Linked DNA regions of Homo sapiens: region 1 is linked to region 2. Evidence: promoter capture Hi-C in human tissues and cell types (Jung and others, 2019). All regions are on one chromosome and are shown on one strand. Each heading gives the region's core, a stretch centred on a gene start or on the middle of the fragment in contact. The rest is flanking DNA. Distances are from core to core; before and after follow the strand shown.

The links. The method cuts DNA at HindIII sites, captures the fragments that hold promoters and counts their contacts. A contact is called where the count stands out against the background at its distance.
Region 1: a contact is called between a fragment that was not itself captured here and the fragment with the promoter of TNFRSF10A in region 2, in 1 of the 25 tissues and cell types used here (aorta).

Annotation. Positions count from the first base shown.
Region 1 is chr8:23,370,057-23,372,786 of GRCh38, reverse strand. All of the region lies in intron 1 of LOXL2 (lysyl oxidase like 2), which reads left to right. Among named protein-coding and RNA genes, the nearest start is that of LOXL2, 33 kb to the left of the region's middle. The HindIII fragment of the contact is 3,539 bases long and covers 1-2,730 here.
Region 2 is chr8:23,223,816-23,226,519 of GRCh38, reverse strand. It overlaps TNFRSF10A (TNF receptor superfamily member 10a), which reads left to right and starts at 1,418. Exons shown (of 10, transcript NM_003844.4): 1 at 1,418-1,764. The coding sequence starts at 1,459. TNFRSF10A-DT (TNFRSF10A divergent transcript) reads right to left here and starts at 1,299. Exons shown (of 3, transcript NR_033928.1): 1 at 397-1,299. RefSeq lists an enhancer at 1,026-1,165, silencers at 1,217-1,408, 1,576-1,825, promoters at 808-1,461, 1-1,461, 890-1,926 and a cis regulatory region at 1,847-1,926. The HindIII fragment of the contact is 7,664 bases long and covers 1-2,704 here.

The DNA.
Region 1 (2,730 bases), core at 203-2,702, 150 kb before region 2:
TGAATTTGTCTATTTTTTCCTTTTAGTTCTATCAATATTTCTTTTATATATATTGAAGCTATGCACGTACGTTTAGAAGAGTTACATTATCCTGGTGGATTGACTTTCATTATCGTAAACTGTCCCTTTTTGTCTCTGGTAATGTTTCTTGTGTTAAGGTCAGCTTGATCGTACAAGTTTCCCTCTGGTTAATGTACGCATGGTATATCTGTTTCCATCCTTTTACATTAAGCCTCTGTGTCTCTTCTAAGAAATATAAAGCTGGATTGGGCTGGGCGTGGTGGCTCACACCTGTAATCCCAGCACTTTGGGAGGCTGAGGCGGATGGATCACTTGAGGTCAGGGGTTTGAGACCAGCCTGGCCAACATGGTGAAACCCCATCTCTACTCAAAATACAAAAATTGGCCAGGCGTGGTGGTACATGCCTGGAATCCCAGCTACTCGAGGGGCTAAGGCAGGAGAATCGCTTGAACCCAGGAGGCAGTGGTTGCAGTGAGCTGAGATCGCGCCACTGCACACTCCAGCCTGGGCAACAGAGCAAGACTCCATCTCAAAAAAAAAAAAGAAAAAGAAATGTAAAGCTGAATTGTTTTGTTATATTCGTTCTGATGATCTTTGTCTTTTAATTGGAGTATTTATTTTATCTAATGTAATTACTGATATATTGGAGTTTAAACCCACCATCTAATATTTTTTCTATTTGTAACAATTGTTTTATGTTACTTTTTATTTGTTTTATTGCTTCAATTTTGGATTAATCAAGTATTTTTTAATTCTACCATTTCTCCCCCAAACCCCCTTATTAACCTGTTAGTTGTACTTTTCTTTCAGTATATGGTTCTTACAATGATTCCTATAAAGATTACAACATGCATTTATTAGACTTGCTAAAGTCTAATAGACAATAGTACTTTTACCACTTCCCAGACAACACAAGAACCTCAAACCACTTGAGCTCCATTTAATGCCTTCCTGCCTTTCGTGCTGCGCTTGCCATGCATTTTTTTTTTTTTTTTTTTTTTTTTTTTTTTTTTGAGACAGACTCTCACTCTTTCGCCCAGGCTGGAGTGCAGTGGCGTGACCTCGGCTCACTGCAACCTCCACCTCCTGGGTTCACGCCATTCTCCTGCCTCAGCCTCCCGAGTAGCTGGGACTACAGGTGCCCGCCACCATGCCCGGCTAATTTTTTGTATTTTTAGTAGAGACGGGGTTTCACCGTGTTAGCCGGGATGGGCTTGATCTCCTGACCTTGTGATCCGCCCGCCTCAGCCTCCCAAAGTGCTGGGATTACAGGCGTGAGCCACTGCACCCAGCCAGTTGCCATGCATTTTAATCATACATGTATTTTAAACCCCACAGGACATTCTTCCTGTTTTACACACTCGATCTTCATTGAGATTTACCTACATCATTTCCTACTTCATACTCTTCATTCCTTCCTACGCCTCCTTACTGACATCTGGGATGATTTTTCCTTTTGCCTGAAGAATTCCCTGTAGTATTTCCGTCTTGTGGGTATTCTGGTGACAGACTCGCTCCTCTTTTGTTTATCTGGGATGTCCTTATTTTACCTTCGTTCTCTTCACTGGGCACAGATTCTAGGCAGACTTATTTTTTTCCGCCCTTTGAAAATGTTGCGCTGTTGAAGTCTTGTCTCCTTATTTGTGTTGAGGGGACCAGCTGTTAGTCTTTCTGCTGCTCTTTCTAAGGTAACTCAGCTCCTCTACCCTGTGTTTAAGATTTTTCTTTCTATCTTGTCTTCTCTGCAGTTGGATTTCGATGTGCCCAGATGTGGTTTTCCTTGTAAACTATACTGTGTGGGCTTGATGTCTTTTGTCATTCTGGAAAATTCTAGGCCATTATTTCTTCCATTATTTCCTCTGCACATCCTTTCTCTCCTCTTCTTTGGGATTCCATTTATGGGAATGTCAGACCTTCCTATGCCCTGGCTTCTAGAGTGCAGCTCTTCAGGAATGCATCTGAGAGCCTGGAGCTGTTTAACAGGTCCCTTTGTCCTTGGCAGGTTCTGAACTCCCGGTCTCCCCAGTCCCTGGAGGCTGCCTGCAGCTTTGCTTAGCTTCTCAGCCTGTTGATCACTGCCGTGGAATTGGCGAGTATCTTCCGGGGGAAAGCAGAGACAAAAGTGAGCCTCACCTCAATGCCCTTCCCATCTCTCTGGATTCTTGGTTCCTTCAGTCCTTGGTGCCTCGGTAGCTTTCTCGTGTCTTCGAACATATGTTTTTAATATTTTACCTTCCTTTTCTAGTTGTTCTTGGCAGGTAGCTTTATCTACTGCAAGGTAGCCTGATACATCCAGAGGCAGATGTGTTGCTGAGCAGAAATGACAAAGAGGTGGTTTCTGTCCCTTGGGCCTGAGGGTCCGGTGGCAGAGCCAGACATGACAACAATGTAAAGCACCAGCAAAATGTGATGTCAAAGGGAAGCAGAAATACATTCAATCTGATAGGAGGACCTAGGAAGGTCTCTGTGAAGAACAGGAAGGATTGCACCAGGTGCCATTTGGAGGGGAGGGGAGGGGATGGAGGCGCGTTGTTCTAGGTGTCAAAAGCTGAAGCTGGTATAGGCTGATATGATGGGATGTGTGCCATGGGCAGGGCTGGGGTGAGAGAAGGGAGACACCGTCGTGGGAACCGAAGCAGGGAAGGTAGGCACGTGCCACACATAAAGGCTTTTGTATCCAAGCTGAACCAGGACTTTTTATATGGGAT
Region 2 (2,704 bases), core at 169-2,668:
AAAAAAAGTCTTTTTTTTTTTTTTTTTTGAGACGGAGTTTCCCTCTTGTGGCCCAGGCTGGAGCGCAATGGCTCCATCTCGGCTCCCCGCAGCCTCTGCCTCCCGGGTTCAAGCGATTCTCCTGCCTCAGTCTCCCGAGTGGCTGGGATTACAGGCATCCGCCACCACGCCCCGCTAATTTTGTATTTTTAGTAGAGGCTGCGTTTCTCCATGTCGGTCAGGCTGGTCTCGAACTCCTGACCTCAGGTGATCCGCCCGCCTCGGCCTCCCAAAGTGCTGGGATTACAGGCGTGAGCCACCGCGCCCGGTCGAAAAGAGTCTTTTCAACAAATGGTACCGGAACACCATTAAAATATGGAGAAAAATGAACATCAATCAGCGCCCCCTTTCTCTTACCCACTCCTCAGCCCCAAGGTCGCCCTGGGAGTTCTTCGCAGGCAGGACCGTGACTCGCGTGGCTTTCGGGAGGCTGATTACCCACGCCCCATGCCCGTGCAGCGCTGGGTGCAGAGGAACCGCTGGAAGGACCTGTCCCCCGTGGGACCCCCACCAAGTCTCATCCCGTGTCATGTGCCAGATAGTCTCCCGTGGTTTAAGGACTTTCAAGACTCTTAACAGGTTAGGAAAATCCAGAAGAAAGGCAGAATTGGGTCCCTCGGGCTTGCCTGACACCAGGGACGGTGGAGTTGAGGTGACATTTCACTGGCATGGAGACCTGAAACCAAAAGCAGGATGAGCCGGGCACGGTGGCTCACGCTTGTAATCCCAGCACTTTGTAAGGCCGAAGCGGGCGGATCACGAGATCAGGAGCTCGAGACCAGCCTGGCCAAAACAGTGAAACCCCCGTCTCTACTAAAAATAGAAAAAAAATTAGCCGGACGTGGTGGCGGGCACCTGTAATCCCAGTTACTCAGGAGGCTGAGGCAGGAAAATCGCTTGAACCTGGGAGGCGGAGGTTGCAGTGAGCCGAGATCGTGCCACTGCACTCCAGCCTGGGCGACAGAGCTTGACTCCATCTCAAAAAAAAAAAAAAAAAAAAAAGGCAGGCTGAATCACTCGCCCGGTAGTGACGGAGGAGGCCGTAAAAGCCTCTTAGAGGCCAGACCCCGCAGTGGCCTCTGTGTCCTTCATTCCGCCACCCATCCGTCCACCGAGCGCCTGCTGGGTGCCAGGAACTGGGTCACAGAAAGGCTGAGGTCAACTCCCGACCGAGAAGCCTGGCGCTGGGACCAAGTGGCAAAACGACTCCGAATGCAGCGGCATCCACGCGGCGGCCGTGGTTGAGGAACAGAAGCTGAGAGCGGCAAGGGCGGTCACAGAGGAAGGAAGTTCAGGGTTAGCCAACAGGAGCCGCAGGTGCCCCGAAAAGGGGGCGGGGTCAGGGGTGCCCTGAACTCCGAATGCGAAGTTCTGTCTTGTCATAGCCAAGCACGCTGCTTCTTGGATTGACCTGGCAGGATGGCGCCACCACCAGCTAGAGTACATCTAGGTGCGTTCCTGGCAGTGACTCCGAATCCCGGGAGCGCAGCGAGTGGGACAGAGGCAGCCGCGGCCACACCCAGCAAAGTGTGGGGCTCTTCCGCGGGGAGGATTGAACCACGAGGCGGGGGCCGAGGAGCGCTCCCTACCTCCATGGGACAGCACGGACCCAGTGCCCGGGCCCGGGCAGGGCGCGCCCCAGGACCCAGGCCGGCGCGGGAAGCCAGCCCTCGGCTCCGGGTCCACAAGACCTTCAAGTTTGTCGTCGTCGGGGTCCTGCTGCAGGTGAGTCCCCACCGCGGTCCTGCCTGGGGAAAAGCGCGCCTGGCACCGGGAGGGGGCAGAGAGAGAGGGGGACGCGGCGGGGGTGCCTGGCCCGGGTCACTTGTGGCGGGGCATGTCCGGGCAGGAGGAGCCCGTCGTCGGAGTCGGAGGAAGAACGGGGTCCCCGGGGCCAGGCAGGAGCGACCCGGGCCTGGAGGCAGCAGAGCCCCCTCCCGCAGGAGGCTGGGCCCGGGGACTCCACCCCGTTGGCTGCTGCCTGGCGCGTCTCCCTCCTGCCCACACCTCACGATGTATCGGGAAGTTTCGGAATCGATAGAGCTCAAGTGTGTAAACTTCCAAGCCAACTCCCAGCCACACCAGCTGCGTGAAGGGGAGCGCCATTCTCCCCACTCCCTGATTCCCTCCCCACCCCCGTCCTTCTTTTCTTCTCTTCTTTTTTTTTTTTTTTTTTTTTTTGAAACGGAGTCTCTCTCTGTCGCCCAGGCTGGAGTGTAGTGGCGCGATCTCGGCTCACTGCAAGCTCCGCCTTCCTGGTTCAAGCGATTCTCCTGCCTCAGCCTCCCGAGTAGCTGGGAGTACAGGCTCCTGCCACCACGCCCGGCTAATTTTTTGTATTTTTAGTAGTCACGGGGTTTCACTGTGTTAGCCAAATCCGCCCGCCTCGGCCTCCCAAAGTGCTGGGATTACAGGCGTGAGCCACCGCGCCCGGCCCTCCATCCTTCTTTTCTTAGACAAATTGGTTAAACACGCAGCCCGGCAGGAAAAAGTAACTTTCTCTCCTCTGCTCGTTGTCTTCCGTTTCGAGTCCACTGAGCACACCGGCAGCAGTTTCCTTCCAGCCACTTTCTTGCGCATCAACAGGTACAGGGCAGCGAATTGACCACCACGAGGCAGGCAGCCAGGAGCGGGGCACGCCCTTCCTTCAGGAGGCAGCGTTTCC